7 separate regions of the Homo sapiens genome follow, and regions 2, 3, 4, 5, 6 and 7 are each linked to region 1. Evidence: promoter capture Hi-C in 16 types of primary human blood cells and fetal thymus (Javierre and others, 2016). All regions are on one chromosome and are shown on one strand. Each heading gives the region's core, a stretch centred on a gene start or on the middle of the fragment in contact. The rest is flanking DNA. Distances are from core to core; before and after follow the strand shown.

Region 1 (3,234 bases), core at 216-2,715:
CCCGAGTAGCTGGGACTACAGGCATGAGCCACCACGCTCGGCTAATTTTTGTATTTTTAGTAGAGACGGGGTTAGGCCATGGTGGCCAAGCTGGTCTCTGAACTCCTGACCTCAAGTGATCCACCCTCGGCCTCCCAAAGTACTGGGATTACAGGTGTGAGCCACCGTGCCTAACCCAAATTTATCTTTTACAGTTGCATTCTTGTTTGTTGCATTTTCTCAAGTCTCAAACTGTTTACCTATTTGCCTGGGTTTTCCACAAAACAGTGTGGCAGTATCGATTATGTTCTGGGCTAGATCTCCTATACAAAAGTGGTAACACAGTGAAAGGCAAGTTGATTTCCTCAAAGACACATGGTGGGAAGTGGAGAGACTAACTGTCACCGTTTATTTCTGTTCAAGAGGACTATACTGAACTATTTACACTGAACATATTTAAATGGTACAAATTTTATACTGGAATAAAACGAAGCTACATGATCTCAAAATTAGGGTTAGTTAGACCTTCCATATGATAAAATACTCAATCCAGCAACTCTGCCTGAGAAGACCAATTAATACTTCGTTTGGAATCCTAACTCTAGCCTCTTACTAGCTGTGTGCCATTGAGCAATTTACTGGGACTCTCTGAGCATGTTTCCTCGTTTTCTAAAATGAAAAAGTACAATAGCTACCATAGTGGTTAGGTTCTCAAGTCAGTAAGTAAGGGGATGGGGGACCTAAGTTGAAATTCCCTTTGAAAATCACTTGAATTGTCCATAAGAACAGTATATTGACTTTTGCGTACATACCACTATACAGTAAGTCCCACAGACACTAAATTTTGAGCAACCATTGAGATAAACTAAATAAGAAATGCATGTGTTCATTAGTTATTGTAAAACTTGAATGGCATATGCACGTGTGGAGACATTAAAGCCATCCTGGTTTTAGAATTCACAATCACTAACAGTAAATGGGGTATGGATGGAGAACACCACTCCAGGTGCTTAACAAATGTCCGTGTCCTTCCTTTCTTCTGCCCTTAAAACCACCTGGAAACCTTCCCGGAGCAGCCGGTTGAATGGGGTTACGCCAGAGACACAGGTATTGATTTACGCAGAGAGTACGTCGAGGGAAGAAGCTTGGAGACTCGTATAGGGTTCTTACCCTGGCACTGGCACTTAGAAGCACCTTGATGAATACGAAAAGGAATTATTATTTACCCTAGGTTACAGCTCGAGCTATTTCGACGTAATAACGATCCCACGTACACTTTAAAAAGCAAACTTCTCACATACATCACTTCCTGGAAGCCCTAGTCAGCCTTTAGCCCAAGCAATGCTGAGCCCAATCCTTCGGCCTTCCGTAGTCTCGCTCGGTTTCGCGAGATCGAGGCTGAGCTCCGCCGCGCCGCCGTGGGGGCGACCCCAGAACACTTCCGGGTGTAACTGGTTGTGCTGTCTGTGTACTTCCGGCAGCCTCCAGACAGTTTCTTCCGCTTCCTGTACCACCCGGCTCAAGTAGCGGACACGGAACAGGGAACTATCAGCCCGTCGGCCTCCGGGCCCTGCATTCTCTAGCCATGGACCGGGACCTTTTGCGGCAGTCGCTAAATTGCCACGGGTCGTCTTTGCTCTCTCTACTTCGGAGCGAACAGCAGGACAATCCACACTTCCGTAGCCTCCTGGGGTCGGCCGCCGAGCCAGCCCGGGGCCCGCCGCCCCAGCACCCGTTGCAGGGCAGGTAATGAGACGTTGGTGCCACTGCGCCACGGAAGAGGGGACGCAGCTCTGGCAGCCACTACCGCAGCCCCGGGTTTGCGTCTAGAGGAAGTGGAGCCGCGGCCGTGAGCACAGGACGATCGCGCGCTGGTGTCTTGGGCTGGGTGGACGGGGGGCGCTCCTGGGTTGTGCAATGCGGGATGCGGGCTGAACTTTTTCTCTGGCACTGCTTGGTAGAGGCGCAGATTCCTTAGCTAAAAATCCCTTGAGCTTTCCTATCTGAGTTGGAGGCGTCACTTTTTAAGTTTCCCCGCTCTCCACCTCCAGGTTGGTTAATGAGGGAATGCCTAGTTAAAACTTTTTGTCTGAGGTTGTATTGTCTGCAGCTTAGGATGGAGCGGAATGGGCGATGAAAGCCATAAGCAGAAGGTTAGAAGTAAAGAGGCTTTGCAGATAACCCAATTTTCATATATATTTTTTTCTTTTTAAGAAAAGAGAAGAGAGTTGACAACATCGAGATACAGAAATTCATCTCCAAAAAAGCGGATCTGCTTTTTGCACTTTCCTGGAAATCAGATGCACCTGCAACTTCTGAAATTAATGAAGACAGTGAAGGTCAGTTTAGCCTTAAAATCTTTAAGATTGCGGTTCGGTTTAACAGTACTTCAGGTGAAACGGAACTCAAAACTATCGTTAGTGATTTTGTTAATTTTTTTTTTTTAGATCATTATGCAATCATGCCACCTTTAGAGCAATTCATGGAGATACCTAGTATGGATCGGAGAGAGCTGTTTTTCCGAGATATTGAGCGTGGTGATATAGTGATTGGAAGAATTAGTTCTATTCGGGAATTCGGTTTTTTCATGGTGTTGATCTGTTTAGGAAGTGGTATCATGAGAGATATAGCCCACTTAGAAATCACAGTAAGTTATTTTTGTTACTTGGATTGCTTCTGTTTTTGTTAACGCATCTCAATGCAAGAACTATATCTTTGCATGCAGTTGTGCTCAAGTATACCTGCCAAGATGCTTTTGGAAATTAAATGTTAATTGGAGAAAAATAGTTTAAAAAAATTAGTGTAAGTTACCCAGTTTCTCCCTCCATTTCTGGTTTTTGGGATTTTTTAAATTTAAACTGGTTGGCAGGCACAGTGTTCTTTTCTAAATGCTCAAAGAGGTATCAGTGGACGTGGTGAGGTTGATTGATATTCAGACTTATTTCTTGTAGTTGAACATATGTATTCTTAATTAGTTAATATTTGGCATTGTATATTTTCATGTGGATAATTTGGAGAGAAGTTTCATTTATATATTTACAATAATTAAATGTAAGTGGTTTGTACATTATATTAAGATACTTTGCCCAAGATGGATAGTCCTGAATTTAAACTAATGTGTCACGATAAAAGATTGGGTATTTGCCATCTATCCAGGCAGATAAAAAGGAAGAAAAGCAGAAGGTATTACAGATTGGATAACAGACAAAATACTTTGGAGAATTGGCATTTCATTTTCACTGGAATCCTTATACC
Region 2 (3,421 bases), core at 700-3,199, 950 kb before region 1:
TGGTGCACAGAGATGGATTCAGGTGTGGTATCTCCTCAGTCCTCTGAGAGGCCGTGGATGGGACCTGTGGTGATCAGAGTCCTCAGATTAGTAGGCTCTGGCTAAAAGACACATCCTTGACTGATTATTTCAGTGGGTTGTACAAATATCATTTTCAACGTGTGCCATTATATGAAAAAAGTTGGAATGCGTTTTTATAGTGATGCAACTTCAATTTCTATTACTATTACTAGTCATTGAACTTGTAGTGTTTTTACAATTGAGTTTTAATTACTTTTTTATAGTTTAATGTATTTTAATAGCAAAGTTACAGGAACAGCACAGAAGACAGACAACATTTAAAAACATGGGCTAGTTGCAGTGGCTCACGACTGTAATCCTAGCATTTTGGGAGGCCGAGGTGGGTGGATCACAAGGTCAGCAGTTCAAGACAAGCCTGGCCAAGATGGTGAACTCCTGTCTCTACTAAAAATACAAAAATTAGCCGGACATGGTGGCGGGCACCTGTAATCCCAGCTACTCAGGAGGCTGAGGCAGAGAATTGCTTGAACTCGGGAGGTGGAGGTTGCAGTGAGCCGAGATCACACCACTGCCCTCCAGCCTGGGCAACAGAGTGAGACTGTCTTAAAAACAAAAACAAAACAAAACAAAACAAAACAAACAAAAACCAAAAAAAATGTACTTGCATGTAGGACAACACAGAAAGTATAGTGATGGAATATACTGTATGATAAAAATGATACAAACACCATTTAGTTGCCGTCAATAAGAAATTTACTTGTTTTTAAAAAAATCCAAATGCTGGCATTGTCCAGAAAAATTTAACACGTTTATTATAATTATTATAAAGTTAAACTGCTGAAACTTGTTCACTGAAACATTTTGACTCGCATTAATGCTTTACGTCCCCACATTTATATTAAAAATTCACACACAAATGAAAATGGAAAAACTGCCAATACCTGATTTCTGTCCCCTATTTTTCCACTCGCAATCATATATACTTAGTACGTTTTGACCCCATGGGAAAAAAAAAATAGATAACGTTCAGAACTACCAACAACAGGTAAAAGAAATTGTGTGTGTGTGTGTGTGTGTGTGTGTGTGTGTTAGAATGAAGTGTTTCCCATCATAGTGGCTTCTTTTTTTTTTTTTTTTTTTTTCTGAGACAGGGTTTCGCTTTTCTTGCCCCAGGCTAGAGTGCAATGGCGCGATCTCGGCTCACTGCAACCTCTGCCTCCCAGGTTCAAGCGATTCTCCTGCCTCAACCTCCTGAGTAGCTGGGACTACAGGCATGCGCCACCACACCTGGCTGGTTTTGTATTTTTAGTAGAGATGGGGTTTCTCCATATTGGTCAGGCTGGTCTCGAACTCCCGACCTCAGGTGATCCGCCCGCTTCGGCCTCCCAAAGTGCTGGGATTACAGGCGTGAGCCACCGTGCCCAGCATAGTGGATTCTTAAGCACATTCTTCAGGTATGTGGTGTGTTAGCTGGATGTCTTTTGGCATAATTGTTACATGTTCGGCATGGATAGCACACAGGTTGGTGTCTTCAAAAAGACCAACCAGGTAGGCCTCACTTGCCTCCTGCAAAGCACCAACAGCTGCACTCTGGAAGTGCATATCTGTTTTAAAGTCCTGAGCAATTTCTCGCACCAGACACTGGAAGGGAAGTTTGCGAATCAGAAGTTCAGTGGACTTCTGATAACGTCTAATTTCACGAGTGCCACAGTACCAGGTCTGTAATGATGAGGTTTCTTCACCCGTCCAGTAGAGGGCGCACTCTTGCGGCGTTTGTAGCTAGTTGCTTCCTGGAGTTTTTTTTGTTTGTTTTTTTTTGCTTTTTGTTTTTTTTTTTTTTTTGTTTGAGACGGAGTCTCACTCTGTCGCCCAGGCTGGAGTGCAGTGGCGCGATCTTCGCTCACTGCAACCTCCGCCCCCCAGGTTCAAGCGAGTCTCCTGCCTCGGCCTCCCGAGTAGCTGGGACTCCAGGCGCCTGCCACCGCGCTCAGCTATTTTTTTTTTTTTTTTTTTTTTGTATTTTAACTAGGGACAGGGTTTCACCATCTTGGCCAGGCTGGTCTTGAACTCCTGACCTCGTGATCCACCCGCCTCGGCCTCCCAAAGTGCTGGGATTGCTTCCTGGGTTCTTTACCACCAATTGATTTTTGGGCAGTCAGCTTTGTACCAGCCATGGTATAGTGACCTCCTTACTTAGACCCGTTCTTCTGCTGGAGCGTGGCGAGTGACAGGCGGCGCTGGTGTTGGAGAGCGATGGCTGAGTTTTAATTAACTTTTAAAGCAATACTTGAGGCCGGGCGCGGTGGCTCACGCCTGTAATCCCAGCACTTTGGGAGGCCGAGGTGGGAGACCAGACTGGCCAACGTGACGAAACCCCGTCTCTACAAAAAAAAAAAAAAAAAAACAACAAAAAATTAGCCTGGCGTGGTGGCGTGCATCTGTGGTCCCAGCTACTTGGAAGGCTGAGGCGGGAGAATCGCTTCAACCCAGGAGGCGGAGGTTGCAGTGAGCTGAGAGCGCGCCATTGCAGTCCAGCCTGGGCGACAGAGGGAGACTCCATCTCCAAAAAGAAAGGGGGGGAAAAAGCAATACTTGCACATAATACAAATGGAATCATACAGAAAGCTACAAAGTGGTAGTGTAGTAATCTGTTTTCACGCTGCTGACAAAGACATACCTGAGACCGGGCAATTTACAAAAGAAAGTTTTATTGGACTTACAGTTCCATGTGGCTGGGGAGGCTTCACAATCATGGTGGAAGGTGAAAGGCACGTCTCAGATGGAGGCAGACAACTGGAGAGAGCTTGTGCAGGGAGACTCACGTTTGTAAAACCATCAGCTCTTGTGAGACTTATTCACTATCACAAGAACAGCACGAGAAAGACCTGCCCCCATGATTCAATTACCACCTACTGGGTCTCTCCCACAACACGTGGGAATTCAAGATGAGATTTGGGTGGGGACACAGCCCTACCATACCAGGTAGTAAGTTCTCCCTTAACCTCAGGCTTTCAGTTCTTCTCCACAGAGCCTGACTAGTTTCTTGTGTATTGCTCTAGAGACATCCTAAAGCCAAACAAGTGGGCATGCATACACATATGTATATTTTAAGGGGCTACATTAAAAATATTTACTACAAGTACAACCAACTGGAATGAAGGCCCATGGTATATAGGATGTGCCAAAATGCCTACTGCATATTATCAGCCTTGCATGTATTCCTTGCTTTTATACACTAGTTTGCTTAAATTGCTTTTATCATCTAGTAATAATTTGGAGATTGTTCCACATCAGCACACGTAGAGCAACTTCATTCTTTTCAATGGTACTGTATTTTAACCACTTTCTACAGAAGGATCTTTAGGTTTTCCCCAGACGTTTGTTACTCGAAACAGTGCTC
Region 3 (3,568 bases), core at 386-2,885, 830 kb before region 1:
AAAGCTGTATGGTTTTCTTCATAAATATGCTAGGCATTTCTAGTTTAGTTATATCTCGAAATTACATTTTCACTGTTACTTATGAATACAAATTTTCCCCATTGTATATTAAACATTGCTGCTAAATTATATAAAGGTACCGATTTTGTAATTGGCCATTCTCTAGGGGTTTGACTGGCATTACATTAAATTTATAGGTTAACCTGGGAAGATGTGTGTTCTGTTTAGCTAGGTTGTTTAAATTCCCAAGTCATTTCTTTTTACTTTTTCTGGTTGGTGAATTGACTGAGGTATATGACTTGAGAATTTTTTTTTTTTTTGAGATGGAGTCTCGCTCTGTCGCCAGGCTGGAGTGCAGTGGCGCCATCTCAGCAAACTGCAACCTCCAACTCCCTGGTTCAAGCTATTCTCCTGCCTCAGCCTCTGGAGTAGCTAGGATTACAGGCACGCGCCACCACACCCAGCTAATTTTTATACTGTTTTTAGTACAGATGGGGTTTCACCATGTTGGCCAGGATGGTCTCCATTTCCCGACCTTGTGATCTGCCTGCCTTGGCCTCCCAAAGTGCTGGGATTACAGGTGTGAGCCACTGCACCCAGCTGAGAATATTGAATACAATTAAAGAGTAGGGGTAATTGGTGTTTGAGGAACCAAAACAAACAAAATAAAAACAACTTCAGTTTTCAGGGTTTTAAGTGGCAAGAAGTCCAAGACAAATCTGTCTAAGCAAAAAGGGAAATATTTTCTCATGAAAGCTGGCAAGTCCTGGGGGCACTGGGCTGCAGGCCTGCCGTGATTCAGGACTCAAATCCTTTTAGCTGGATGGGCCCCTTGGCTCTGCTTCCTCTAGGTTGGTTCCAGTCCCAGACAGGCTCTCCCTAATGGCACAAGATGGCTGCAGCGCCTCCCACAACTATATCTTTCCAGGTTAAAATCTAGCTAAGTCTTGTCCCAGAGTTCTCAGCAAAGGTCCTGAGAGCCTGAGACTCTGTGAGACTCCGTTATGTGCCCTGTCCTACTCCAAGTCACTGAGGCAGGTTGATTCAGGCCTGCATTATGGGCCTCACTCCTAGAACCTGAGGGTGGAGACATCTTCCATCCTCTCACCTGAGCTGAGAAGGGACAGGTTGATCTCCTTCAAGCACTGGTTCAAGTGTGGTTCGGACTAATAGAATCACCTGAGAACTTGTTAGGACTGATGTTGCCCCACTTCAGACCTGCTGAATTAGGAACTCTGGGTGAGGCCCAGTAATCTGTGTTTTAACAGGACATCCAGGTGATTCTGATGCAGCTTAAACTTGAGAATTACCACCTTAAAAGCAGTGTTAGGTTACTGTTGCTTTAAGAAGGAGGGTCGTGGCTACTGGGACTTTGTCACACCAGGTTAACACTGAAATAATAAGGTAGGTGTTATGAAGTGGAAAAAAGCTATTATTACAAGGGTAGGGATTAAAGAAGTACAGGTATCAAATTTTTCCTTTTAGGAATATGTTAATTAAAAATCACTGTTTCCATTTTTCTGAATGTGGAAGTAATGCTACTGCATGAAACGATTATCTAAATGGCGTCTAATTTGTTTAAAAAGGTTAGTGCTATTAACACTTGATGAAATAGTGGCTGTCATTTCCTGAATGCCTCCTCTGTGCCAGGCACTTCCTTGACCACTTTTCCTTCACTGCTTATAGGGAGGTATTCTGATGAGGAAGTGGTGACAAAGCTAAGTGGTTTGCTAGTGGTAGAACCAGGTTAGAATTCAGGCCTGTTTGATTTTGAAGGCTGTGCAGTTTTTCCTTTATCCCCGATTGAGTCATCTTATTTCACATTTTGTATTGGAATGGAGACGAGAGTCTATTTTCTACCATGTTCTGCACATTTTAGGGCTAGCACCTAACTTTCTGTTGAGTTTTTTAAAACTTTAAAGCTAGAAATCAGGCCGTCACTCTGACCTATCGGGGCTTCTGCTATGTGCAAAATCATTTCTGTTTTCATGTTTCACTTAATGAGCATTTAATTTTTCTTAAGAAAAGAACTCACTGATTGCCAATGAAATTAACATGTGATTAGGCTGTGATTACTCAGAGCCTGCTCTGGCTCCTTCAGCCACTTTGGTGTAATGGTTTAGATGTCTCCGATGCTGCTGAGATTTTCCAGGCAGGGAGCAGAGAGGCGTTCATTTGCATAACGCTGGGGTTCCTGAGGTGCTGAGCTCCCTGAGGAATGCCACCCAGAAGAGGATCTAGGGGGCAAAAGGTACAGCTCCCCAGGGAAGCTAAGCCCCAGTGGTCGACTGGAAAGTCACATAGACACTTCATGCCACTGGTGCTAATTCTCCTCCCACTTAGCACTTGTTGCAGTTCCTAATTTTTTCAGCGGTGCTGTTGAAAGTTAAGAGGCAGCCACTCTTGAGTAAACTGATTTACACTGAAGGATAAATGATGGAGAACTATTAGACTTGGAAGGAAGTGTTTGCCTTTCGGAGCATTCGGCATTGTAACCGAGAGACTGGTAATTTGGAGCTGGCTAGGGTTGGGGGAAGCAATTCGTAGACCCTTTACAATTCTGTTGCTATCAGCTGCCTTCCGATGTTATTGATTTACCTAGGTCTGTCTTCTCTTTTTGAGAATTCAGAAATTTCTGAAAGCTCCAAATACTCCTCCCTCCCACACTGTTTTTTCTCAGAGAGGGCATGAGGGGAAATCAAGCTGTTGGAGAGATTGAACTTGTTGTATATTGCGCCTGATATACTTTGGATGTTTGTCCCCTCCAAATCTCATGTTGATATGCAAACTGCAGTGTTGGAGGTGGGACCTGGTGGGAGGTGTTTGGGTCATGGGAGTGGATCCCTCATGAATACCTTGTGGGGGAAAAGCATATCCCAGATAAATACCCAGATATTGGGTGCTTATGAGGCAAATGTTAGTAAGTTGGCAATTTTATTTCCCCCGCTTTGTACAGAGGGAGTTAGAGATAGGCAATGACACAAATTAATCAAGTAAAGAGCATTGGATGAGAACCCAGTTTTTCTCACCAGAGGACTGCTGTGCCTCTGGGGTCTTGGTAGTTATTTTAGGGAGTGTTTTGATGTCTCTGTGTTCTGAGCACTCTCTGTAGACTAACTAAATAATGCGTCATGCCCTGATGAGATACTGCTGCTTTGTAAATATTTTAGATGCTATAATGGCTTATAAAATTAAATTCATTTAAAGACACTTCTGAATCCAGAGTTGCTTTTGGTCATTACACTTGTTAAAGCATAATTTTCCAAAAGGCAAGATCATGACTTTCAGGTAAATGTAAAATGAACACATATCACAGATTTTAAAAAACTCATTAATTAATGAGAGAATCAGTCAGATGTTACTACTGGTTTAAAAACATTTGTGGAACTAGGATATTTAAAGACAATTTCAAAAAGAAATGTTAGGATGAGATTGCCAGGTTAGGTTAAAAATTAGTCAGTGTCTGTCAGGACCATAAATCCTTGAAATAATTATATTACCAGTTTATACCCCAATTTATAAATCTATACATCCTTGAGGATATGTGTTCTACTGGACAGAATTTTTT
Region 4 (3,452 bases), core at 249-2,748, 850 kb before region 1:
GTGGATTAATGGTCATATTTTCAACCAGTAGACAGGAAGATTATGGTTTTTTTTAGTTGTTAGGTTTTCAATACTGTAGACATCTTAATGTCTTAATGTCAGGAAGAGGTACAGTTTATATTTCTTTCTCAATAAAATCTTTATCGTATTTTTGCCTTAATTGTGATTTAGTGAACAATCAATATATTTTAAATAATGCTAACAGGTTGTTAACAACAACACAGTATTGTTGTTGGGACATATTCTAAGCACTTTATATGTCTTAAATCATTTAATTCCCATAACAGCTCTTTGAAGAAAATTTGCTGTCTATCTAGATCTCTTTGAATGATTTACATTCTAATGATCTTTATTTAAAACATATCATTTTTCAAGAAATATTTTAATTCCAGAAATTAATTTTAGAAATAAAAGAATAAGCTGAGCATAATTTATAACTGTGCTAGATTTAACTAACTTGATGTCCCCAAACTGCAATAAATGAATGCAAAGCATAACTTTTGAGATTGATTTGAACAGATATATATTGAACAGTTACTACATGTGAGCGATTCAACTTGAGACCCTATAGAGATTACAAAGATGAATAAAGAATGTTTTACCCAATAGGGCAAATATTATGTGAACACCATCTAAATCTACTTTCTGGTACTTTTAGATTGGCGGCTACCTATAACACAGTGATGTGTTAAATTATCCCTGCCCCAACCTTGAGTTATTCCACTACCGCTATTATGGTATTACAGCTAACACTCCGCCTAGATACTGACCACAGAGCAGCTTCAAGAGTCTCAGGGATCCTGAGTCATATTTTGGAAATTATTGGTTTACCAATGTCTTTTGGTTGATTTCACTGTTATGTATTTTCCAGATTTTAAGCTAATATGGTAGGAAGAGTAGGTAAGAAAAAGAACATTTTTACATTAAAATATCATGGCCGGGTGCCGTGGCTCACATCTGTAATCCCAGCACTTTGGGAGGCCAAGGTGGGTGGATCACCTGAGGTTAGGAGTTTGAGACCAGCCTGGCCAACATGGTGAAACCCCATCTCTACTAAAAATACAAAAATTAGCTGGGCATGGTGGCAGGCACCTGTAATCCCAGCGACTCAGGAGGCTGAGGCAGGAGAATCACTTGAATCCGGGAGGCAGAGGTTGCAGTGACCCGAGATCACGCCATTGCACTCCAGCCTGTGCAACAAGAGCAAAACTCTGTCTCAAAATAATAATAATAATAATAAATATATATATGTGTGTGTATATATATATATATATGTGTGTATATATATATATATATATGTATATATATAAAATATCAGACAGAGTTTGTTGTTTTTTTGGTGCAGTTGAGGACTTGGTGACATTTAAATAAGAATAATGTGTATTACTGCTTCTCAGAAGATAGAAAAACCTAATTAGAGATAATATATAATTTCTGGAGAGTGAGCCTGGCTAATAGTAGATTAGTTGCTTGGGATGATAAAGCTCCTGTTTTCTGAATTGCCTTTATTCTTCTACCAACTTTGTAATGGAGAATTTGAGATACAGGGAATTTAAATAACTTGCCTGGAGGTAAAATACAGATAAGTGACAGTTCAATTCAGCATCCAAGGCTTTATAGCTTTTACCTCTTTCATGACAAAATAATCATGCTAATTCCTTAGGTATATACAATACTTTCTAGTGCGCCAAGCGGTTTCACATCATTTCATGAACATTGCACGGCCTGGCAGGTAGACATGATTAGTAAGTCCATTTTGTAGATGGATCAGGGAGTGTCAGTGGTTTGCCCAGATTTGGAGTGAATGAAGTGGCATTTTCAAGACCCACATCCACATCGTTTGACTGTTTTTTGCCCCGTGTTCTGTCCCTGCGCTGTGCCTTTTCTCTGACACTAGGGGGAAGCAATACATTTGCATTTGTTTTCTAACAGAAGATGCATTACAAATAGAAGGCAGTGACTTAGATTTGAAAAGTGGAATAGGGGAGGATATTCTAGAATTTTTTATTTTAAAAGGTATCTGTGATACCTATAAACAGCTCATTTTCTTTTTTACATATACCTACCACACCCACATTGACTACAAATAGAAATGGTTGTTAAAAACAAAATGATAAATGTGGAGTGAATGAGCTGGAACTAGGGTATGAATTTGGTGTACAGGTTGAACAGTCTGTGTATAAAATTGCCAAATCCATGCCCAGGAAATTGAGCCTTTCTGAAAGTTTGAAGAGGATTCAAGATACTGGTAATGTGTATTAATTTTAAACTTCAAGGCCCAGATTCAGATTTTTTGGATACTTATCCCATAATATGTCTACCCCTAGGATCCATGTGGCCATGGATTAAGTACCGCAGTATTTTAATGAGGCCCTGGCATTTCCAATAGTCAACCTCAGCCAAAGTTGCAGTAAGCCCTTCGTCCGCCAACTCTGCGCTATAAGACAGTGACTCTGTGTGGAAGTGGAAGTGGAGGTGGGGGTGTTTCAGGATCACCTGGGGAGACTTTTCAAACCCCACATACATGTATACCAAGCATGCATGCTGTAAACAGTTAAAACTATGTATACTAAACTCTAGCAAGGATTTCAGAAAAAATAAATGGTTGAAAAGCACTTTTCAGAAATATAGAACACCACAGCAAAGTAAAAGTAACAATTTTGAAACAGGTCCAAAAGCATTCTTTTTTTTTTTGAGATGGAGTCTCACTCTGTTGCCCAGGCTGGAGTCCAGTGGCATGATCTCAGCTCACTGCATCCTTTGCCTCTGGGGTTCAAGTGATTCTCCTGCCTCAGCCTCCCGAGTGGGGATTACAGGCGTGCCCCAATCCCCACTAATTTTTGTATTTTTGTGCCTGGCTAATTTTTGTATTTTTAGTAGAGACGGGGTTTCACCATGTTGGCCAGGCTGGTCTTGAACTCCTGACCTCAGGTGATCTGCCCACCTCGGCCTCCCAAAGTGCTGGGATTACAGGCGTGAGCCACCGCACCTACCCAAAAGCATTCTTAAACGATAACATTCTACATTAAACATTTTCTTCTTGTGAAGAGGCCAGGACAAATGAGCAGGGGAGAGCGAATGTGTGTCCACTTACATGTCTGTGTTTGCATGTTCCTCCTCTTCAGTTCAGCCATTGGAATGGCCAGGTGTGCCTCAGACAAAGTTGATATGCTTTTTGAACTGTATTCACAATTCTTATTGCCTTGTTTCATTGATATATCCCCTTGTGTTTCCCAGAACATCTCGCTTTGCTTCATTCCCTGAATACTTGGTAGTGCAGATAAAGAAGTTCACTTTTGGTCTTGACTGGGTTCCCAAAAAATTTGGTAGGTATCTTTTGCGTGCTTTTGCTTAAAACATCAAATGAGCCATTTAAACAACATGGCATGTGAAAGAGCCCATGTAGTTGGCTGCCACAAACAGTTCCATTTCATTCCATCATTCTCACCTTT
Region 5 (3,251 bases), core at 397-2,896, 980 kb before region 1:
GGTACGTGCCTGTAATCCCAGCTACTCAAGAGGCTGAGGCAGAAGAATCACTTCAACCTAGGAGGCAGAGGTTGCAGTGAGCCAAGACCATGCCACTGCACTGCAGCCTGGGTGGCAGTGTGAGACTCCGTCTCCAAAGGAAAAAAAAAATGGATAAAGATAGAATTAGCTTGTTTGGAGTGAAAACTATAAACTGGTGACAAGGAGACTATTAGGAGATATGTGTCAGATTAAAGAGTTCTTTTTTAAATTTTTGAATTTTTTTTTAGAGTGGAAGTCTTGCTCTGTTGCCCCAGCTGGGAAGCAGATGGATGGGTATATCCATCCAGTGAAATATATAATGTGGCCATTAAAAAGAAAGGGATATATGCTGTTATGGAAAGCTATGTGGATTTTCTTTCTTATACATTATATTTTATATACATATTAAAAAGCTAGACACATATATTTTTTCCCCTCTCTTATGGTGCTGAGTGCCTGTTTTTTTTTTTTTTTTTTTAATTATACTTTAAGTTTTAGGGTACATGTGCACAACATGCAGGTTAGTTATGTATACATGTGCCGTGTTGGTGTGCTGCACCCATTAACTCATTATTTAACATTAGGTATATCTCCTAATGCTATCCCTCCCCCCTCCACCCACCCCACAACAGGCCCCAGTGTGTGATGTTCCCCTTCCTGTGTCCATGTGTTCTCATTGTTCAATTCCCACCTATGACTGAGAACATGCAGTGTTTGGTTTTTTGTCCTTGCGATAGTTTGCTAAGAATGATGGTTTCCAGCTTCATCCATGTCCCTACAAAGGACATGAACTCATCATTTTTTATGGCTGCATAGTATTCCATGGTGTGTATGTGCCACATTTTCTTAATCCAGTCTATCACTGTTGGACATTTGGCTTGTCCAAGTCTTTGCTATTGTGAATAGTGCCACAGTAAACATATGTGTGCATGTGTCTTTATAGCAGCATGATTTATAATCCTTTGGGTATATACCCAGTAATGGGATTGCTGGGTCAAATGGTATTTCTAGTTCTAGATCCCTGAGGAATCGCCACACTGACTTCCACAATGATTGAACTAGTTTACAGTCCCACCAACAGTGTAAAAGTGTTCCTATTTCTCCACATCCTCTCCAGCACCTGTTGTTTCCTGACTTTTTAATGATCACCATTCTAACTGGTGTGAGATGGTATCTCATTGTGGTTTTGATTTGCATTTCTCTGATGGCCAGTGATATGAATATTTTTTCATGTGTCTTTTGGCTGCATAAATGTCTTCTTTTGAGAAGTGTCTGTTCATATCCTTTGCCCACTTTTTGATGGGGTTGTTTGTTTTTTTCTTGTAAATTTGTTTGAGTTCATTGTAGATTCTGGATATTAGCCCTTTGTCACATGAGTATATTGCAAAAATTTTTTCCCATTCTGTAGGTTGCCTGTTCACTCTGATGGTAGTTTCTTTTGCTGTGCAGAGCTCTTTAGTTTAATTAGATCCCATTTGTCAATTTTGGCTTTTGTTGCCATTGCCTTTGGTGTTTTAGACATGAAGTCCTTGCCCATGCCTATATCCTGAATGGTATTGCCTAGGTTTTCTTCTGGGGTTTTTATGGTTTTAGGTCTAACATTTAGGTCTTTAATCCATCTTGAATTAATTTTTGTATAAGGTGTAAGGAAGGGATCCAGTTTCAGCTTTCTACATATGGCTAGCCAGTTTCCCAGCACCATTTATTAAATAGGGAATCCTTTCCCCATTTCTTGTTTTCGTCAAGTTTGTCAAAGATCAGATAGTTGTAGATATGCGGCATTATTTCTGAGGGCTCTGTTCTGTTCCATTAGTCTATATCTCTGTTTTGGTACCAGTACCATGCTGTTTTGGTTACTGTAGCCTTGTAGTATAGTTTGAAGTCAGGTAGCGTGATGCCTCCAGCTTTGTTCTTTTGGCTTAGGATTGACTTGGAGTGCCTGTGTTTTTTTAACCAGTCCCCTATTGCTGGTACTTGGGTTCTTTCCAAGTTTTTTGCTATTGTACATACTGCTGTGTTTAATTTTCCCCCATATTGTTTGCATATTTATGTAACATATCTGGAAAATAAATTTCTGGAAGTGGCATTAATAAGCCAAATAGCACATGCTTTTAAACTTTGGGTAGATATTGCCAAACTCTTCTCCAAAAAGTTGCACCAGTTGTTTCTTCATCAGTTTCCATGTTTCAGTTTTCCATGTTTCTCTGTAATGGAATTTATCAAAGTGAAACATTTTTGTTGATAGGGTAATTGAAAAATGTTACCTCATCATTTCAATTTTATATTTCTTTGTAAAGTTGAGTAGTTTTTTTAATATCTATTAATTGTGTGTATTTCTTTTCTTTCTTCCCCCCGCCCGAGACAAAGTCTTGCTCTGTTGCCCAGGCTGGAGTACAGTGGCATGATCTTGACTCACTGCAGCCTTGGTCTCCTGGGTTCAAGCTGTCCTCCCACCCAAGCCTCCCTAGTAGCCAAGATTACAGGTGCATGACACCATGCCCAGTTAATTTTTGTATTTTTTGTAAAGACATAGTTTCACCGTGTTGCCTAGGCTGCTCTCAAACACCTGGGTTCAAGCGATCCACCCTCTGGGCCTCCCAAAATGCTGAGATTACAGGCGTGAGCCACTGCACCTGGCTATGTGTATTTCTTTCTCTATATATTGTCTTTTGGCAGTGTAGAAATTTTTGCAACACAGAAGTGTTTTTACATTTTCAGGTAACAAATCTGTAATAGTAACTAATAATATTTTCTTTTTCTTTTTTTTTTTTTTTTGAGACAGTTTTGCTCTGTCTCCCAGGCTGGAGTACAGTGGCGTGGTCTCGGCACACTGCAACCTCTGCTTTCCGGGTTCAAGCGATTCTGCCTCAGCCTCCCGAGTAGCTGGGATTACAGGCGCCCGCCACCACACCCCGCAAATTTTTGTATTTTTAGTAGAGACCGGGTTTTGCCAGGCTGGTCTTGAACTCCTGGCCTCAAGTGATCTGCCTGCCTCAGCCTCCCAAAGTGCTGGGATTACATACGTGAGCCACCATACCTGGCCGCTAATAAATTTTTGAGTACATTTAATATCAGTGTTTTAATTACTTTCTATGTATTTACTCATTTATAATTATTGTCAGGTTTGACAGTCTTTAGCTTTTGGGATTTTGTGTCATACAGAGATCTCTGATGATAATTAAATCAGTAAATATGTAATTCCAAAATTATTTTTTTTAATATTCACCATG
Region 6 (3,529 bases), core at 604-3,103, 920 kb before region 1:
AGCTCACTGCAACCCCTGCCTCCCGGGTTCAAGGAATTCTCCTGCCTCAGCCTCCTGAGTAGCTGGGACTAGAAGCGTGTTCCGCCACGCCTGGCTAATTTTTGTGTTTTTAGTAGCAATGAGGTTTCACCATGTTGTCCAGGCTGGTCTGGAACTCCTGGCCTCAAGTGATCTGCCCATCTTGGCCTCCCAAAGTGCTGGGATTACAGGCTTGAGCCACTGTGCCCAGCCTGTAATCTATTTTAATTTAATAGAGCTGTCTACCACCATTACTTTAAAAAAAGTTTTATTTTGTATCCTGCCTGATATGGTTTGGCTGTGTCCCCACCCAAATCTTATCTTTGAATTGTAGTTCCCATAATCCCCACATGTCGTAGGAGGGACCTGGTGGGAGATAATTGAATCATGGGGTTGGTAACCCCCATCCTGTTCTCGTGATAGTGAGTGAATTTTCATGAGATCTGATGGTTTTATAAGGAGCTTTTCCCCCTTTGCTCAGCACTTCTCCTTCCAGCCGCCCTGTGAAGAAGGTGCCTTTCTTTCCCTTCACCTTCCGCCATGATTTTGTTTCCTGAGGCCTTCCCAGCCATGCGGAACTGTGAGTCAGTTAAACCTCTTTCCTTTATAAATTACCCAGTCTCGGGTGTTTCATTATAGTAGTGTGAGAATGGACTCATACACTGTCCTTTGATTCTTCCAGTTGCATTTCACTGTCATCTTGAACCTGGCCTGATTGCTTGGCTGCCCTTTTGTCCACATGGAGGCATGCGCTTTACCATGCTTTCTTGGGTGGTGATCTTAGTGAGAAGATGGCTGGTTAATGAGAGGATGAGGTTGAGGGTTTGAAACTGTGAGTCAAGAAGCTTAGCTTGATTGTGGGCTGTATACCATTCTCTGTGCTTTGGTCACAAGGAAATTGGGAGACAGTTATCCACATAGACTTTTTATCAGGATTGAAAGAAGCTGTTGGGAGCAGAGGCCATCGGGTGCTGACTCTGTATGTGAAAGACAGTGTATGATAGGACCAATATTTAGGTATTAATAGGGCAAGAGAGAAGAAAGCATGGATTATTAGACTGGGGTGTTTGTTTGTTCTATATGTGACAGGTTTGAAAGGGTTTTCTGTGTTAATGTTCCCTGAATTTTAAGAACTACTGGTGAATGTATTGGGCAGTGCCTCCCTGTCAGCACTGGCCATGTAAAGGGGCACACACTACCTCTGTGGCCAGCCTTGGTGTCCAGTGGAACATGCCTGTTGATGTTTTTTTTCCTCGCTCTATTGCGCAGGCTGGCGTGCAGTGGCATGATCTCGGCTCACTGCAATCTCTGCCTCCTGGGTTCAAGCGATTCTCCTGCCTCAGCCTCCCAAGTAGCTGGATTACAGGCACCTGCCACCATGCCTAGCTAAGTTTTGTATTTTTAGTAGAGACTGGATTTTACCACGTTGGTCAGGCTGGTCTCGAACTCCTGACCTCAAATGATCCACCTGCCTCGGCCTCCCAAAGTGCTGGAATTACAGGCGTGAGCCACTGTGCCCGGCCACCTGTTGATGTTATAATGAAATCCTTCCTTATGTGGCCATTCCTCTCTGAGTGTCAAATAATTTTTCTCTTTGATTATGGACTTCGTGACATTATCAAGCGGCTTCAGAAATTGAGAATTCATGTCTGGTATGTTAAATTTCTGGCCGGGTGCAGTGGCTCACGCTGTAATCCCAGCACTTTGGGAGGCCGAGGTGGGTGGATAACAAGGTCAGGAATTGCAGACCAGCCTGGCTAACATGGAGAAACCCCGTCTCTACTGAAAATACAACATTAGCCGGGTGTCGTGGCGCATGCCTCTAATCCCAGATACTTGGGAGGCTGAGGCAGGAGAATCACTTGAACCCAGGAGGTGGAGGTTGCGTTGAGCCAAGATCGCGCCATTGCATTCCAGCCTGGGCAACAAGAACAAAATTCAATGAGAAAATAAAATAAAATAAAATAAAATAAATTTCCATCAGATTCCCTAATAAGTAAAAAACTCTTGACAATGAAATTAGCAAAGACTATGATTACTTAAGAAACTATAGACTCTTGGATATAGAGTATTTCTATATTTTTCTTTAGAAAAATACTGTCCTTGAACATTTTTGTTCTTCTGATTGCTAATTTCTTGGTTCTTCTACTAGTTGCCTAGTGTTTTTTTCTGACAGATTAATATTTGTTACTCCCAGCCTATGTGGCTGTCAGACTCACTTATTCTTCCTCCTGCTTGTTTTCCCCAATTATAAAATGATTCAGATAATGAGATAATAATAATTAGCCCATAATGTATAATAAACAACATTTATGTATTGCCATATAGCACAGAAAGCACTTTGATATATTTCACCCCCTTTAAATTTCATGCAACTCTGTGTCGTGGGAATTATTGCTACGGCCATGTTTATAGAGGAGAACACTGGAGCTCAGAGCCCTATATGGCAGCCTGCCTTAGGCCAGAGAGCTAGCTGGTGACAGAGCATGACCTCTATTACAGATCCCATATTTTCCCCAGTAAATCTTCTGGTTCAAATTCATTGACTGAATTACATTTTATTAGAAGAGAATGGAACTTTTTAAAAAAATCACAATGGATTTAATGAATAATTGACTATTATAGTGATGCAGTATGTTTTTCTTAGGAGGTCTATCTATCCAAAGAACATGTTTATTTAGAAAACTCTTGAAAATACTTACCTAATCTGTTGATTAAATGCATGTAATGTGTTGTCTCTAGTTGAAGGACTTTTCTAATTTTATTTAAATGATTTCAGGTAAAGGCAGAAAAGTTATCCACAAGCACAAGCTATATTATAATTATAAGCTTTTTTGGATGCTATTTTTTTTTTTTGAGACAGGGTCTCTTTCTGTCACCCAGGCTGGATGGCACAATCATGGCTCACTGCAACCTTGACCTCCCTGGGCTAAAGTGACCCTCCCACCTCAGCCTCCTAAGTAGCTGGGACAAAAGGCTGGCTAATTTTTGTATTATTATTTTTTTGTAGAGACAGGGTTTCTCCATGTTGCCCAGACTGGTCTTGAACTCCTGGGCTCAAACAATCTGCCTGCCTCAGCCTCCCAAAATGCTGGGATTGGATGCTGTTTTGAAGTCAAGCTTTAAAAATTTCATTTGCAAGTGTTTGTTGCTAATGTCTGAAACTGCAGTTGACTCTGGTCTATTAACTTGTATCCTGTGATCTTGCTAAATTCACTTATTGCTCTTACTAGTTGTTATTTTCACTAGTGTGTGTAGATTCCTTAGAATTTTCAATATGGCCTGTACTGTCATTAGGAAATAGAGACCACTTTACTTCTTTCTTTGTGATCTTTATACCTTTTATTTATTTATTTATTTAGTTTGCTTATTGCAATGTATATGCTACAGTAGGAGGCACATACTTGAGTTAATGCTGTTAAGTGTTCACATTGTGAGAGGACTGTTTATATCCTCACTTAGAAATTCCAGATACAATGTTAGAGAATTTGATTATTAGAAAATTGTTTAA
Region 7 (3,358 bases), core at 477-2,976, 910 kb before region 1:
TATACAGATATAGACATGTATATGTATGTATGCATGCATGTATGAATGTATATCTGTGTGTGTGCACACACTTCTACACACACATACACATGTGTACATATATAACTGGGAGATCAGAAGAGTCTGGAAGAATACTCCAAACTGTTAATAGTAGCTCTTTCCCGGTAATAGAATGGAAGTGATTCTGATTTTCATCTTTTTGCTTCTCTATATTTAAACTTTTTCTGTAACAAACATGTTACTGTGATGAAAAGACACATGAATTATTTGAAAAGTGAAGCCATTGAAAACTGTTGTGGAGCTGAGTTTCTTTCCTGGTTTGATTCTCAGTTACTCTGTGCTGGATCCAACCTTGCTGTCTTCTCCTGCTTCTCAGCTCATGCTTTTCTGTACGAGGCTTATCTGCAGTTGGTTCTTCTACCTTGGCCAATCTTCCTTACTTCTCAACCTGTCTTTGGACCACAACCCAGTTTAACCAACTAAACCCAAACCAAGCTAGCATGAACCCCAAAGCTGAAATTATTGAATATCTTCTGATGCTTTGGTTATTAGTCTTCCAGCACCTTTGCACTAATATAGATCATATGATTTCATTTGAATTAAGTAACGTCAGCAGGTTCTTCTTGAAGGCAGAACTAACTAAACATTTCGACTTACCATTGTTAATTTTTATTATTTTCTTTGGTTGAATGAAGAAGTTAGCTGACCTTGGCCTTTAATTTTTGTGTCTTCTTTTCATAAGACCTGGAGGTTTGATTTTTTTCTAGTGATTATTTTGGTTGTAGAGGATATTGTCAGGAAACTGTTTTAGAAATTAATTTGAAAGTTAGCACTGAGGTTTTGTGCTTCAAACTGTGTGGACCCCTTCCTTCCATTCTTCCGTAGGGGACTACCTACCATTTTGTTTCAGTGAGGCTTTTTCTACAGGTTATTCTCTGTATTCAGGCAAGATTTCATATCTTAGAAAACCACAAGGTGCATATAGAACTCACAGCCCCAAAAAAGTGTTCTATGACTATATTAATTTAAAAATGAATGCCATTAGCCCCACATTCCATTTCTCCCTATTGTTTTATATCCAGGTTCTTTACAAATTTACCTCCGTCATCCCAGTAGGAGTTCTTTCTTTTTCGGTTTTTGAGACAGGAACTCATTCTGTTGCCCAGGCTGGAGTGCAGTGCCACAATCATAGCTCCCTGCAGCCTCACCCTGCCAGGCTCAAGTGATCCTCATGCCTCAGCCTCCCAAGTAGCTGGGACTACAGGCACACACCACCACACATGGTTAATTAAAAAAAATTTTTTTTAAAGTGATGGGGTCTCACTGTGTTGCCCAGGCTGGTCTTGAACTTCTATGCTCAAGCAATCTTCTGACCTCAGTCTCCCAAAGTGCTGGGATTACATGTGTGAGCTGCTGTGCCTGGCCAGGAAGTTATTTTTTACAGGAATTCATTTTTTGCAAGTTCTGATTTAAAGCCCCCTCAACTGATGCTTCTCATCTCCTAGGAACAGGCACTTTTCTCTTGTCACATTGGTCCCAGCCCTGAGTTAATGTGACCTATAAATTAATTTCAGTGATGGGCTGTGTATTAGGGTTACATCTGGTTTATGTAACGGTAAATTTAAAACACTAGTAACTTTGTTTATTTATTTATTTATTTATTTGAGCCGGAGTCTTGCTCTGTCACCCAGGTTGGTGTGTAGTGGTGTGATGTCGGCTCACTGCAATATCCGCCCTCCGAGTTCAAGCAATTCTCCTGCCTCAGCCTCCCGAGTAGCTGGGATTACAGGTGCCCACCACCATGCCCAGCTAATTTTTGTATTTTTTTTTTTGTAGAGACGAGGTTTCACCATGTTGGTCAGGCTGGTCTCGAACTCCTGACCTCAGGTGGTCTGCCCACCTTGGCCTCCCAAAGTGCTGGGATTACAGGCGTGAACCACCACACCTGGCCTATTTATTTTTGAGACAGCATCTCACTGTGTCACTCAGGCTGGAGTGCAGTGGCATAATCATGGACACTGCAGACTCGGCCTCCTGTAGGGCTCAAGTGAACCTCCCACCTCAGCCTCCCAAGTAGCTGGGACCACAGGCATGCGCCACCATGCCTGGCTAATTTTTGTATTTTTCTGTGAAGACAGGGTTCTGCCATGTTGCCCAGGCTGGTCTCAAACTCCGGGGCTCAAGTGATCTGCCTGCCTTGGCCTCCCAGAATGCTGGGATTACAGATGTGAGCCACTGTGCCCGGCCGATTCTGGTAACTTTAAACAAGATAGATGCTTATTTTGCTGTCATGTAGAGGATGTTGGGAAACAGTAAGTGTGGTGATGTGATGGCCTCATGTTCACCAGGGATCTAGGCTCTTCCCATATTCCTGCTTCACCCTCCATCCTGGCCCATGATTTCCAACCTCATGGTCACCTTACGGTCCAAAATGGCTACTGGAACTCCAACCATCACATCCTGATTCTGGAAAGCATGAAAGAGGAAAGGGGAGGCCGGGCGCGGTGGCTCATGCCTGTAATCTCAGCACTTTGGGAGGCCAAGGTGGGTGGATCACCTGAGGTCAGGAGTTCGGCAGCCTGGCCAACGTGGTGAAACCCTGTCTCTACTAAAAATACAAAAAATTAGCTGGGCATGGTGGCACATGACTGTAATCCCAGCTATTTGTGAGGCTGAGGCAGGAGAATTGCTTGAACCTGGGAGGCGGAGGTTGCAGTGAGCTGAGATCGCACCATTGCACTCCAGCCTGGGCAAAGAGTGAAACTCCATCTCAAAAAAAAAAAAAAAAAAAAAAAAGAAACAAAGAAAAGAGGAGAAAGAGGAAGGACAAAATAGTCTAATCTCCCAGCAGAGTCACCTTGCCTTTGTCAGCCTTCTCATAGAGCCCCCAATCAGTTTACGCCTCTCTGGCAGAACTTGGTCACGTGGCCACATCTAGCTGCACAGGAGACTGGAAAATAAAGCCCACCAGCGGGCTCCGCTGAGTAAAGTTGGGGTCTCTTATTAGGAAGAAGGGGACAGTGGGTATTGGGAGGCAGCTAGTAGCCTCTGCCACAGACTCTTTCCCTCAAAGGGATGCTGGGATTGTTTCCTCATGGAGAGGAAGATAACTCAGAGCTCTCTTGCAGTTTCTCTGTTATTTTTTGGCTAGGAAGTACTATTTCACTGGTACTGAAATGAAATTATGATGCTCCTTCTTCGGCTTCATGAAGCAGATGTAGGTGGCCAATGCTTTATCTTGGGTGGAGGTGTTTTATTCCCATTCATTTGATGACTTTGTGAATAATTCCTTTTCCATCAGCTCAACAGTGACATTGAAACCATTGAATCATTTGGTTACAACCTGCAATTGACTTTA

Evidence for each region. The method cuts DNA at HindIII sites, captures the fragments that hold promoters and counts their contacts. A CHiCAGO score of 5 or more calls a contact.
Region 2: a contact is called between a fragment that was not itself captured here and the fragment with the promoter of TTC14 in region 1, in 16 of 17 cell types (naive CD4 T cells, total CD4 T cells, non-activated CD4 T cells and 13 more). The highest score is 16.3, in naive CD4 T cells.
Region 3: a fragment that was not itself captured here is called in contact with the fragment with the promoter of TTC14 in region 1 in 7 of 17 cell types (endothelial precursors, M2 macrophages, M0 macrophages and 4 more); the score reaches 16.0 in endothelial precursors.
Region 4: a fragment that was not itself captured here is called in contact with the fragment with the promoter of TTC14 in region 1 in 5 of 17 cell types (M2 macrophages, M0 macrophages, endothelial precursors and 2 more); the score reaches 12.1 in M2 macrophages.
Region 5: a fragment that was not itself captured here is called in contact with the fragment with the promoter of TTC14 in region 1 in 1 of 17 cell types (naive CD8 T cells); the score reaches 6.3 in naive CD8 T cells.
Region 6: a contact is called between a fragment that was not itself captured here and the fragment with the promoter of TTC14 in region 1, in 1 of 17 cell types (endothelial precursors). The highest score is 5.2, in endothelial precursors.
Region 7: a fragment that was not itself captured here is called in contact with the fragment with the promoter of TTC14 in region 1 in 4 of 17 cell types (M0 macrophages, M2 macrophages, M1 macrophages and 1 more); the score reaches 7.9 in M0 macrophages.

The regions. Positions count from the first base shown.
Region 1 is chr3:180,600,698-180,603,931 of GRCh38, forward strand. TTC14 (tetratricopeptide repeat domain 14) reads left to right here and starts at 1,466. Exons shown (of 12, transcript NM_133462.4): 1 at 1,466-1,725; 2 at 2,194-2,318; 3 at 2,427-2,626. The coding sequence starts at 1,565. It overlaps TTC14-DT (TTC14 divergent transcript), which reads right to left and starts at 1,416. Exons shown (of 3, transcript NR_183700.1): 1 at 1,206-1,416. RefSeq lists an enhancer at 1,257-1,546. The HindIII fragment of the contact is 2,365 bases long and covers 1,122-3,234 here.
Region 2 is chr3:179,648,004-179,651,424 of GRCh38, forward strand. It overlaps the pseudogene H3P13. Among named protein-coding and RNA genes, the nearest start is that of USP13, 3.3 kb to the right of the region's middle. The HindIII fragment of the contact is 5,252 bases long and covers 1-3,421 here.
Region 3 is chr3:179,770,304-179,773,871 of GRCh38, forward strand. The region is part of intron 19 of USP13 (ubiquitin specific peptidase 13); the gene reads left to right. Among named protein-coding and RNA genes, the nearest start is that of USP13, 120 kb to the left of the region's middle. The HindIII fragment of the contact is 4,298 bases long and covers 1-3,568 here.
Region 4 is chr3:179,749,048-179,752,499 of GRCh38, forward strand. It overlaps USP13 (ubiquitin specific peptidase 13), which reads left to right. Exons shown (of 21, transcript NM_003940.3): 14 at 3,238-3,326. Among named protein-coding and RNA genes, the nearest start is that of USP13, 98 kb to the left of the region's middle. The HindIII fragment of the contact is 6,287 bases long and covers 1-3,452 here.
Region 5 is chr3:179,618,717-179,621,967 of GRCh38, forward strand. The region is part of intron 5 of NDUFB5 (NADH:ubiquinone oxidoreductase subunit B5); the gene reads left to right. Among named protein-coding and RNA genes, the nearest start is that of NDUFB5, 16 kb to the left of the region's middle. The HindIII fragment of the contact is 5,639 bases long and covers 1-3,251 here.
Region 6 is chr3:179,675,617-179,679,145 of GRCh38, forward strand. The region is part of intron 1 of USP13 (ubiquitin specific peptidase 13); the gene reads left to right. Among named protein-coding and RNA genes, the nearest start is that of USP13, 24 kb to the left of the region's middle. The HindIII fragment of the contact is 1,984 bases long and covers 862-2,845 here.
Region 7 is chr3:179,692,028-179,695,385 of GRCh38, forward strand. The region is part of intron 3 of USP13 (ubiquitin specific peptidase 13); the gene reads left to right. Among named protein-coding and RNA genes, the nearest start is that of USP13, 41 kb to the left of the region's middle. The HindIII fragment of the contact is 3,789 bases long and covers 1-3,358 here.